Linked DNA regions of Homo sapiens: regions 1, 2 and 4 are each linked to region 3. The links are contacts of gene promoters, found by promoter capture Hi-C in human tissues and cell types (Jung and others, 2019). All regions are on one chromosome and are shown on one strand. Each heading gives the region's core, a stretch centred on a gene start or on the middle of the fragment in contact. The rest is flanking DNA. Distances are from core to core; before and after follow the strand shown. Region 1 overlaps L3MBTL4 (L3MBTL histone methyl-lysine binding protein 4). Region 2 overlaps L3MBTL4 (L3MBTL histone methyl-lysine binding protein 4). Region 3 holds the start of TMEM200C (transmembrane protein 200C). Region 4 overlaps L3MBTL4 (L3MBTL histone methyl-lysine binding protein 4).

What was found. Contacts are between HindIII fragments. The study calls those that stand out against the background at their distance.
Region 1: a fragment that was not itself captured here is called in contact with the fragment with the promoter of TMEM200C in region 3 in 2 of the 25 tissues and cell types used here (H1 embryonic stem cells and small bowel).
Region 2: a fragment that was not itself captured here is called in contact with the fragment with the promoter of TMEM200C in region 3 in 1 of the 25 tissues and cell types used here (hippocampus).
Region 4: a fragment that was not itself captured here is called in contact with the fragment with the promoter of TMEM200C in region 3 in 5 of the 25 tissues and cell types used here (H1 embryonic stem cells, IMR-90 fibroblasts, dorsolateral prefrontal cortex and 2 more).

The regions. Positions count from the first base shown.
Region 1 is chr18:6,157,194-6,160,133 of GRCh38, reverse strand. The region is part of intron 13 of L3MBTL4 (L3MBTL histone methyl-lysine binding protein 4); the gene reads left to right. Among named protein-coding and RNA genes, the nearest start is that of L3MBTL4-AS1, 98 kb to the left of the region's middle. The HindIII fragment of the contact is 6,349 bases long and covers 1-2,940 here.
Region 2 is chr18:6,374,563-6,377,441 of GRCh38, reverse strand. The region is part of intron 1 of L3MBTL4 (L3MBTL histone methyl-lysine binding protein 4); the gene reads left to right. Among named protein-coding and RNA genes, the nearest start is that of MIR4317, 1.6 kb to the right of the region's middle. The HindIII fragment of the contact is 4,980 bases long and covers 1-2,879 here.
Region 3 is chr18:5,893,873-5,896,811 of GRCh38, reverse strand. TMEM200C (transmembrane protein 200C) reads left to right here and starts at 1,290. Exons shown (of 2, transcript NM_001395400.1): 1 at 1,290-1,782. The region is part of intron 9 of MIR3976HG (MIR3976 host gene); the gene reads right to left. LOC121725015 (a long non-coding RNA gene) reads right to left here and starts at 1,085. Exons shown (of 3, transcript NR_172505.1): 1 at 726-1,085. The HindIII fragment of the contact is 12,914 bases long and covers 1-2,939 here.
Region 4 is chr18:6,177,140-6,180,338 of GRCh38, reverse strand. All of the region lies in intron 12 of L3MBTL4 (L3MBTL histone methyl-lysine binding protein 4), which reads left to right. Among named protein-coding and RNA genes, the nearest start is that of L3MBTL4-AS1, 78 kb to the left of the region's middle. The HindIII fragment of the contact is 4,893 bases long and covers 1-3,199 here.

The DNA of each region.
Region 1 (2,940 bases), core at 167-2,666, 260 kb before region 3:
CGGAAACACTTGGTGAAGGCTCCAGGATGGAATGTGCCAGTCCACCAGCAGGGCAGCCCCCCAGGACTGCATGACTCTCCATGCTGTGGATGAGAACGGCTGTACTTACGTCACCCTTCCTGCCCCTTCAGCCCTTGTTTTAAACACTCTTTCAGAAATCAGAGCTAAACAATGCAGAATAAAATATTTGATTATGTAGAAATGCTTTTAAATGTTTTAAAGTAGGAATAAAAACAACAAAATAAAAATGTGACATGTCCCAGTGCTTCTAATAAGATAGATATAGCTTGAGACAAAATATTCATTTTTTAATTAAATGCAGATTTGGCTGCACCACTTAGTAACTAACAGACTTTTCTCACCAGGGTATATATAAAGTGTTTGTTATGAAATGACAAAAAACTGAGGTGCCGCGACAAGGGCTGGTGGGGTATGGAGTGGCCTGGTGGTGCTGGCCCTTCAGGGAGAGCCATGTGGCATGCCCTGGAGCCTCCCGTGCAGGGACCATCGCGTCAGATTAAGCTGGGCTCTTGTTTATGATGGGAACACTTTGCATCTCCAACTTAAGAAGAACAAAGCTGCTCGCTCAGCTTGGGTATAGATATAAATAGATGCAGGAGAGGTGTTTCGATTCATCTTCTCTTATCCTAGTCACCAAAGATAGGGGTGTGGAATATGAAACTGATGGAATCCTAGGACTTATCAGATCCAAACCTCTCATCCAGAGGTGAGGCAACTCAATGATTCACACAGCTTGTTAGAGCCAGAGTGGGGTCTCTGGTCCTGGTCAGAATGTATTCTTACTTGCCTAAACCCTGCAATATGCACTTTTATAATCAGATGTGTTGCCCTCTGGTTATCCCGTCTCTGAACAGAAAAGTGGGTAACCCAGCCAGTGAGAGGTCCCAACCTGGGGCGAGGCCTATGGAAGTGCTGAGGTTGGGTTTCCAGCAAGGGATGGTATCCTCTGTTTTGCAGCATCAGCAATGCTGCATGAGGCATGAGGGGAAGAGGGCAGCAAAGCCCAAAAATAGATGACATTGCAGCATAGCCTCATACCTGGGTCGCCTGCAGTGACTTCACATCATTCCTGATCATCAGCAGCTCACAGGGCACACTCTTCCCAGGAAGATGGAGCCTTACCTTTTCATAAAGAGACATCCCTGATGGGTCTTGCTCAAGATCCTTCCTCCAAGGAGGAAGAGCTGTTTGCTCTAATCCCCAAGCCACTCTGTATGTGGCTTTTATATCTTGACACCAGATTTCTGCTCACCTACCAGCCCTTTTAGAGACCCCGTGCTTCCTTACTGAGGCACGTAAGAACTTCTGGGTCCCCTCCATGTACCACACAGGCTGTGCTGAAATGGAAGTACAGCCTTGGGCTCATTAACTTGGCCACTGACCTTCTACCATGTGTAAGTAGCCATGTGGGATCTCTTTCTACAGATGTACAGCTGTCCCTTAGTATTGCCACAGCCTTGTTTTAAGACCTCCTATTTATAAATAGATGCCCACTCCAATGCCAGCATGAAGGAAGGGTAAATGAAAACAGAGGGGGAGTAAATGAAAACAGAAGAGAGGAGTGTGCACATACACACCTCTTGCCTCCTTGTCTTCCTTAAGCCTCTCATTCACTACGCTTATTCCTTTCTCTCAATTGGTGAACACAAACTCTTTCCACCCTAAGGCCTTTGTATATATATGCTGTCTTCTCTGTTCAGAATGGTCTATCTGCTCTTCTACCAGATGGCTCTTTCTCACCCTTTAGAATACATCTTGAATGGTCCCTTCTTAGAAAGGCCTCCATGGGCCATATTATCTAAAGAATAGCAATCACTATTATTTTTCATTTGACCACTTCCTTATCTCCGCAGTGCAAAATACAATATGTAATCATCTCAGTTGTCATTAGTTCTTATGAAACCATAAGCTTCATGAATGGAAGGACGGTGGTATCTCTTAGTGTTTTTCCATGGTCTGACTTCCAAAAAACATTTGTCTATATATTCTTCTCTCTATAATGTGTTGGTTAGTCACATAATGCAAAACCAACATGCATCTGTAGAGGCCACCTTGGGCTCTCGCCTGCCACCTTAATGGAGTGAGTGAGTTCTTGAGTAGTAGCTATGGAATTGGTCTAGTCAAGCCTAGTAGGAGAGACACAGGCCAAGAATAACCCTCCCTAAGTGACCAAGGAAACTTTCCTAAATAGGAAGTTGATAGGCAGAAAAATGAGATTTCTTAGCTAGCTTCCATGTCTAAATAATTGTGTCATTGTTCTTTCTTTAGCTTCTGTTTGATTTTTATTTGGAAGTAATTATAATGCTTGATTACAAAGTAAATTAAATTATCATTATGAAGTTAAAGTGTATATTAATAGAGTAATAATACAAACTAAAATATATATATCCTTTGTAATTTATATTAATGACTTTGAGAACATTGCTAATTTATTTAACAGTTAAACATAAACAGGCATAATAGCACATAACTTGATAAAAGGTATAGTTCATTTTTATCCAATTTCATTTAATATACTGCACGTATATAAATACAACAGAATGACTTGTAAATACACCATATGGCTGGTACATTGTTTATCCTGATGAGTGAGATAAAATTCTTAATCTACACTAAGCAATGAATGATTAATAATGCCATCTTTTATGAGCATTGAAACTCTGTGGAATTAGAAAAATTTTATTCAGAGATGGAAATTCACTTAGATTATAAAATAAAAGTTAATGCAATTTTTTGGCCAGATGTGAAGCAATTAATATGATGATGGATGGATGTCATTCCGAGGAAAAAATATTGTTAGCCTAACCAGGTAATAGCACATTTTCAATTTCATTCTGTTTTAAAGAGAATTTCACAAGGAATCTTTAGTACTTGTTCTTCCAAATTACAGCAAGCAAGTAATCAGCAGTTTTAAGAGTC
Region 2 (2,879 bases), core at 326-2,825, 480 kb before region 3:
AATGTATGTGACAGGTTGATGGGTGCAGCAAACCACCATGGCACGTGTATACCTATGTAATAAAACTGCACTTTCTGCACATGTACCCTAGAACTTAAAGTATAATACAAATAATAATTAAAAAAACCAACTCAGGAAACTCGTATGAAGAAAAGTGGACACGGCCAGGAGAGGAGGTAAGATTTCTTCACCTATACCTATTTATATGGTCTTAACTTTCGAACGAGATGAGTTTGTCAGTTACTCAGTATGTGAATGGATGAATTTGTAACCAAGCAAATAAACAAAATACAACACAGTGCTCCTGGTGGTCAGCCAGGTTTGTGACCCTTGAGACAGGGGGCCAGGTGAGGATCAGAGAAATCCACTTCCTCTCTTTTCCCTTTTCCTGTTTGTGCTCCGTGCCCTCCTCCAAAGCTTTATTTGCTTTTGGTTGAGAGAACTTTCTGGAATTTGTGATAGTCAGCGTTACTAATGTCCTTAGATAGTTGGCACTGTGTATCACCTTTTGTAAATACACAATGATTTCAGTGTGAGGGCAGGAGAGGACAAATCCCATCTTGCTACCTTCATTCCTCCATTCAGATATTCATTCAACAGATATGATAAGCTATTAGCAAGGGCCATACACTGTTCTAAGTGCTCAGGCTATGCTAGTAAGGAAAGTAGTTGAGGACCCTGACTATGTTTTTTGTTTGTTTTTTGAGACAAGGTCTCACTCTGTCACCCAGGCTGGAGTGCAGTGATGCCATCAAGGCTCACTGCAGCCTCAACCTCCCATGTCCAAGTGATCCTCCCATCTCAGCCTCCCGAGTAGCTGGGACTACAGGTACACACCACCACACTCAGCTAATTTTTGTTGTTGTTGTTGTACAGATGGGGTCTCCCCAGCCCAGGCTGGTCTGAAACTCCTGGTCCCAAGCAATCCTCCCACTTCAACCTCCCAAAGTGCTGGGATTATAGGCATGAGCCACTGTGCGCAGCTGGGGCCTTACTTTATGTACCCTGTAGATAGGATAGACAGACAACAAATATGCAAAACAAATGAACAGACAGTGTAATTTCATCAAGTGTTTAGTGATTAAACTAAAACAGACTGATGTGACAGCGAGTCAGGGGGTGCTACTGTGGATAATTTTCACGACTGACAGGAGGAGGTGATGTTTGAAGTGGGACCTACATTAAGAGAAGCAGGAAGCCCTGCAAGGATTTGGGTGCCGTGCTCCAGGTGGGCTGCAGTGAGTGCACAGGTGCTGAGGAGCATTTTGCTGGGCACCTCTGGGGACAGTGGGAGGGCCACTGTTGCCAGTGAGGCGAGCAGGGAGAAAGCAGACTGAGACAGTGGGGTCGGAGAGCTTGAGGGGCTAGACCCAGTCCATATGTGGCCTTGTAGGACTCAGTGACGAGTTTGGAGTTTCCTTAATGTGCTGGGAAGCTACTGGCAACTTGAGCAGGGCAGGGATGAGTTCTTAGCCACAACACTGTAGCCACATGTTTTGGGACACCTCATGTTTTTAGCGTGTCTAAACCTAAACTAGTGCCCTCGCCTGAGTTTGTGCTTTTGCCTATTTCTTGTTGAGTGGCTCTGCTCACATTGCTGCCCCAGTGGAGATTTGACATCCAGGCCAGGCCCTTCTTTCTTTATTATTGCCCATGTCTGTTCTGTCACCAGGTCCTATTGGATTCCACCCCATTCTTTTTGGGTTCTTCTCTATTTCTCATCCTGACTGTTGCAGTTAAGCCATTGTCATCTCATTTACTAAATTGGTATTGACGACCTCCTGTGCCCCAGACGTTATTCCAGGTGCTGGAGATACAGTGACAAAGAGCCCTCTCGGAGGGCTCAAGTAAAGGAACTAGGATGAAAAGTGCTGAGTGTCATGCTAAGGGAAGCGCTGGCTGTGGAAGTGTCCCTCACCTAGCCTGGGATCGGGGTGGTGGTTGCAGGAGGCATCCAAGGAAATGACATTTACACGGAGGTCTGAGGGGCAGCGAGGTGGTGGGAAGGTGGCTCCAGGTAGGAGGTGAGAAGAGAGCGCACAAAGTCAGGTTGTAGCACAGTCTGGCTGGGAAGAGAAGTCGGCTGGTCAGGTGGGGAGCCAGGTCAGGAGGTGCCTCAGAAGCCGTGGCAGCCTGGACTTTATCCTTAGGGCGGGAGAGCCATGGAGGGGCCATAAATGGGGGAGAGAGAGCCAAGCCGTAGAGGCATTTTAGGTCCACATATGGACAGTAAGTTTGGAAGGTATAAAGACTGGAGTTCCTGTATCGACTGGGGCAGATGCAGTGATCTAGGTGGCCGCCAGTGGAAGGCACCTGTGAGTCAGGGTTTGCAGTTCCTGTGTGGACGTCTGAATTAATTCTGCAGATCAGACTGCGTTACACTGCAAGAGCAGCCCGAGTTTCCCAATGCACCAAAGCAGAAGCTTTTTGGAAACCTATATATTTTTTCATACTATTGGGAATTTCTTCAGAATATGAAGGCTTTATCGAATTGTGTCTGAAATGAATTTCATTTAAATACTGAATTAATTGAAAGCTTTGCTTCTGAATATTTTTCCATAGATTTCACGGTGCTTTAGAAATTTCATTTTGCCTCATGTTTTAGTACTGGCAATAACTGCCAGTAATAGAAGTGGCAGTGTTGAGGGAAATGGTGGTGGCGAGTGTGGGATGGTCTCAGTGGGCAGCTTTCTTACGATGAGGAGAGGCGGGGCGTGACTGGTTCTATCGTGTTTTCACTGGGACCAGGACTCACTGTGGAAGGGCAGGAAGTACCACTTAGTGGTGAGAACAGCACGCAGGCTCCAGTTTACCATTCTGGTGATTTGACTTTAATGAAGCCCTTTGGAATTTTGACTGTAATCATGGAAGAGGTCATT
Region 3 (2,939 bases), core at 41-2,540:
AAGCACAAGTGAATGCTGTGTATGTGGGGAACAATCTTGTAACAGGAGCTGCGGGCAGCAGAGCCCTCCTGTGTGGGTTTTGTGGACCCCTAAGCAGCAAAACTCAGAATATATAACACCCACCACCACCAAAATATTTATCTGGATCCAAAATTTCAGACAGCACTTGCTTCATCTGCTCTTCTGTTCCTTTCTTCCTGAATCCTGGCTGCCTCATTTCAATAGATAAATGAAATCTTTCTCACTTTCTCAATACTCTTTGGGGAAATTCCACTTTGAAATTCTCTTTTCCCTGTCATTTTTACTTTACAGTTGAGAAGACAGGGATGAACTAGGAAACAGGATCTCGATCTCTTTCTCTCTCTCTCTCGCCTTCTCTCTTTTTTAAATGACGTAGGGAGTTTGGACATCCTCCCTACCCCCACCTCCCCTCTCTGATTCCAACCCTGATTCCTGATTCCTGGAGAATTATAGTTTTCCTTTTAATGCTTGCTGATTACCGCACCGGGGAGGAGCAGGAGGGGCTGCCCAAGGAAGAGCCCCGGAGCCCATTCTGATCTCCGAGGAGCCCCAGCTGCCGGGTCCCGGTCAGGCTGGTCACAAAGCCCGGCGGGGCTGGAGCGCGAGCGCATCTGGCAGAGGCTTCCAAGCGTCCCGCGGTGCGCCCGTCCCGGCGGGGGCGGCTCCACTCCGCCCGGGCCCGAGTTCGCTGGGGGACAACTTACTGTGCTTGCCGAGCGTCCACACTGCAAACTCCCAAGCGGGAGGGGGAAGAGAGCCCAGGCTGCGCCGTGCCGAGGAGTAGAGGCAACAAAAGACCGAGGCACGAGGGGAGGGAGGCAGGCACGGAGGGACCGCGGACTCTGGCCCCTAGCTCCCCGAGAGCGCCCCTCGGATGCTGCTGGGGAGACCCTCCGGGCCTCTCTTTGGGGCCTCTGGGGCCCGCGGCTCAGACAGGTAGTTGGAGGAAAGAAGAACAAAGCTGCCCGCGGAGGCAGGCGGCGGTCTCGGGGCGCCCCGGGGCGGGGAGAGCCGAGGCCGAGGAGGCACCCCGCGCCCCCTGCCCCGCGGCCCGAGCGCCCCGTGCCGGCTGCCTCCGCCGCCTCCCCTCACGCCTCCTCCTCCCCGAGGAATCGGCGCTTCCGAAGGGACGGGCGGCGGGCGGCGGAGGACGCGGGGGAGCGGGGAAGGCCGGCGGCGTGGGGGGGGGCGCCGGAGGAGGGGGTGGGGCGGGGGGCGGGGGCGGGGGCGCCCCCCGACTCCGCCGAGCCGGGCGGGCCCCGACCGCCACCCTGCCGCAATTTCCCTGTGTCATGGCTCCGGTCTCTTAGCAACAGCCGCCAGTCCGGCCGCCCCGAGCCGCCGCCGCGGGCTCAACTCCACCCGGCGGAGCCCGGCGCGCCGCAGCCACACAAAAGAGGCGCGAGGGCCGGCGGCGCGGCCGCAGGGGCCCGCCCGGGAGCGCCGCGCTAGGGGACGCCGGGAGCTGGAGGATGAGCGGCGGAGAGGAGGGCTCCGAGGCGGGATGCGGGATGCGGGATGCGGAGGACCTGACACTTCTTGGAAACTCTTGGAAATGGCTCCCGCCACAGCGCCGGCGGGGACTGCGAGCCTGGGGCGGGCGCTCGCCCCCGCGGGGCTGCTGAGTCGCGCTCGGATGCGGGGCCCCGGGGCGCTGTCCCTGCGCTCCGCCGTCGGCTCGGGCTGAAAAAGTTTCTCCATGGTTCCTTTGTGTCGCCCGAGCGCCCGTTCGCCGGCCCCGACCTCCCTCGGTCTCCCTGGGTAAGTGAGCGATCTTGCGTGCGGAGAGTGCTGCCATTTTGAGCAATTCTGCCAGTCCCCAGCCCTTGGGGGCCCCTCCCCGCCCCTCGGGTCCCCGAGTCCCCGCGCCCCGGGCTGGTGTTCGGTGAGAGGCTTTTTCCCGGGCTGGCTACACGGGATGCGCTGCCCAGAAAAAGCTAGTTCAGGATTGCCCTCACTTGGCTCCTGCCTGTCTTCTTTCCAGAGGCGGACTCCCAGCTGCTGCACTCATGTGACTCCAGCTAACATCAATAAGCAGACCAAAGCCAGGGGCCAGGGGGTCGCCGCCCTGCCAGTGAGGGGCCGGGGTCGAGGACCTGGGTTGGGTACCGGGCACAGCACAGCGCTCCCAGCCTGTGGGATCCGAGCCTCCGAGCCTCAGAGTGGGGCTTAATCCATCTTGAGCGGAGAACTTGAATGTCTCTCTTGGAAGCAGTTGTATTTTTAGACATCCCTCCTTTGCTTCCCCCATCCTCCATTCTTTAACCACGGTAAGACCAGCTCCAGGCAGTAAATTGCGAGGGCAGCCAAGCTTGACTGCTAAGTTTGTTTTCTTTCATTAGGTATAAAGGAAAACCTCAAAGGTGGGTCTCCCGTGGCATCTGACCTTTGTCTGTATTTCGTGTCAGATGATGATACATTAAAAGGGAGTACAGCCTTCAACAGAGCTGAAGGAATAATAAACGAGGGAGTTAATTACTAGCTATTAAACTCATTTTAAAGATGTGCGGTAAAGGACTGTTGAAATCCATTCCAACCTTCCTTACATTCTACCGGAGCCAAAGCTGCCTTGCTGAGGAGAAATCCAAGTGGGTTTCCTCCTCCCCCAAGGCATCCAGCCTCCCGGCGCACCTGATCAATGCCCAACAAAACATGTAGCCTTTCTGCGGTGGGAGAGCCACCCTGCCAACTGAGTCTGAGTTCGCTTCTAAAAAATGTCTGGTCCTTAAAGCCTTCTTAAGATAACCACGGATCTCCAGATTATTTAAGATGCTGGACTCCAAGGATCACTTAAAACAACAGTCTCTATGTTACAACCACATAATAAATGTGCTTACTTATTTGGGATTAGAGATAGACAGTAAGCTCTTTTTTTTGTTTGTTTCAATCTGTACTTACTGGTGCAGCTTAAAGGTTTA
Region 4 (3,199 bases), core at 560-3,059, 280 kb before region 3:
GGAAATTGGGGGCATATTTCATAATCCCTGTCTCAGTAGCCTTATATGTAAAATGGGGATAATAACATGAGAGTAAGGTGTTTTGAAGGTATATATATATTTTTCCTTTCCTTCATGCTCTCTCCTTCATTACCCTTGTCTGCAAGCAGATGGACTGAATGTGGAGTTAATGTTTACTGTGGAAAAGTATGGGTAGCTCTGGACTATATCCCTCATTTAGTCAGTTATATTGTTTTCCTGATTTATTTTCTTGCATGGTTCTCTCAGTAAACTGTTCTCAGGTTAAGTCTGTTTTTGCCATTTACTGGCTTATGATCTTGGCAAACCTCTTAACATCTGTGAGGCCCCTATTAATCATCTATTAAAATAGTACTGTGAACATTAAATGAGGCGCTATATAGGGCCGCACTCAGTGCCTCATGCCTGTAATCCCAGAGCTTTGGGAGGCTGAGGCAGGAGGATCACTTGAGAACAGGAGTTTGAGACCAACCTGAGCAACATAGCAAGACCTTGACTCTACAAAAAAACAAAATAAAATAATTGAGTGGTGTGGTGTGGTGGCATGCGCCTGTAGTTCCAGCTATTTGGGAGGCAGGAGGATCACTTGAGCCCAGGAGTTTGAGGCTGCAGTGAGCTGTGGCTGTGCCATGTCTGTGTATGTGTGTCCACACACACACATTACAACTATCCCTGGAATATATGTGTACAATAAAAGTGTGTCCCCTGCCATACCCAACACTCTTGCTCTTGGATTATGATAGTATTCTGTAAAGGCACGGTGCAAGCATTCTTGCCCCACAGCAGGGCAGATGTCTTGCCTCAGTACTATCCCTGAACCCACCTTTGCCATCCCTCAACAGAGCCCAGAGCCTGGCATCACAGGAAGTAAGATGAACTATAATCTTATTAGCACCAATAGTTATGAGCAATAGGTATCAGGAAAACATATTAAAACCCAGTTCTCCTCTCTAGAATGAAACTTAAGCCTAGTTAACTCAAAATGTATTAAATTAAAGCTAGAAGAGTTCAGGCACAATACAGGCTGTTTCTGAAGAAGTTAACATCATGTCTGCGCTTACAATTTGTTTGCCATAAGCATGTAAAATAGATTTGAGGACTCTGACAGTAAAACAAACGTATCCAATAAGCCTATTAAAGTGGAAATTAAAAATTTAAAAAAGGTTTATAGCAAAATAAAACAATGTAATAGTCACTTAGGCTAATAAAATTATTGTGACTGAGCATTCAATTTAGCCCCAATGTTCCTAGGTATTATAATAACTTCCTCGTCTTCCAATTGCCCAAAAGAACAATGAGAAGATGTGATTACTGTCTTGCATCTTATTCAGACAATGGGCTTTGAGCCTTTAAAATCTGTGAGACACAGGGCTAAGTGCCATGGGAGCAGCGAACATGACTGAGGCGTTGGGGTACATTTAAGGGGCTCAGGGCAAGTCCTACTGTGGGCATTGGGAAGTAAAGATAAGGAAAAGCAGAGACTGTGTTGGTGCAGACGGCTGGAAGTGTGGGATTTATGCCAAGGAGTTTTTCCTTGTTGTTGTTGTTTTTAATATGCTGATCTAACTTTTAAATTTCCAAGTTATTTCTTACCGCTCTTTAATAGCTAATGTGTAACGTTAATACCATTAGGACACATTCCTGTCTGTTGAAGGATAAGAACTTGAGACAGTGGTTGATTCAGTGATCTGACCTTTGTTTTCTAGTTTATCAAAGCTTGAGCAAGAAGGGTCTACATGTTTATTTTATGCAAACCCAGATATGTGAAAAATAATAAATGTATGAAATATAATGTTGAGATGATTTGGTTTTCAAAATGAGGCTTTGCTTTACAAAAGGACTCTTGGTAAATAGACTTAAAATGCCAGTCTCCTCTATTAACTTGACCATCTGGTTAGAATTTTTTAAATCGGATTTTTATTCCACAGATCCAAAGATATGATCCAAAGATATGAAAATATCTTTCATAAGGATGTATTCTACATAGGCACAGATTTTGATTATAAATTCAGAGTTTAGACAGCCCTTGTTGGGGAGGGGAGAATCACATCATTGGATTGGGAGGCTATTTTTAATTTCCATGGTTTCATTGTAAGCAGTTATAGACAATCCTGGAAATGATAATTTAATATTTATTAATGAACATAAGAGGAAAATGTTGAATAGGGTATGTAAAAATATTGTACCTGCTGTCAAAAAAAATTGAAAAAGATTTTTTTTTTCACTTCTTCAGTTGAGACCTAATTCTGCAGTCGGATTCCCAGGTCCACCACAATAGTTAAAATAGAAAGACCTAACTCCTCAAAGCAGGACCTTGCTGGGGTATTTGTCCTGTCCTGTTTGTGCTTTGACACAACTTCCTTGCTTTTGAAACATAAAAAAATTGCACCCCAGACTTAAAAGGGGAAGGGCATTGAAATTAGTTGAAGCTTGGGAAATTTATTTCTTCTTCACTCCATTATATGGACTTACACAAACTTCTTCCTATTGGTAATTCCAGAGCAGGAGGCATCATTCCAAAAAGGAACACCAGTGTTGCCTGTTCACACCTTGAATATTCAGTGGCCTGGTACTGACAGTCCTAGGGTGCCTGGCTATGTCTTGAGCACTGCAACATCGCCATCAGTAGAAGATAGTAGGAGACAGAGCAGCCACATGTGACAGCAGCTGAATGTAGAAATGTTTTAAATAAAGTAACTATATTGAGATGTAATTTGCAAATGATAAGATGTACAGATTTCATGCACGCATTTTGATGAGTGTTGAAAAATGTATAATATATCCTGCATAGCCACCATCCCAGTCGAGATGTAGAACACTTCCAACAACACAGAAGCTTCCTTTGTGCTCCTTCTCAGCCAGTCCTGCTCCCATCCTTCTCCCAGACAACCATGGACCTGGTTTCTATTGCCTGTTGTCAGATTTCCTATCAGTGGGGTCATGCAGCATGCACTGTTGTGTCTGCCTCATTGCTCAACATGAAGTCTGTTGTTCCCATGTTCATGCATGTGTAAACAGTTTATCCCTTTTTATTGCTGAACTAGCATTCGTTTTATGGACATTGCACACTTGTTTGTGAATGAATGTTCACCTGTTGGGCATTTGGGTTGTTTTCAGGTTTGGGCTATTATGAATAAAACTGCAAGGGGCATTTGTTTACACAACTTTATATTTTCATCAC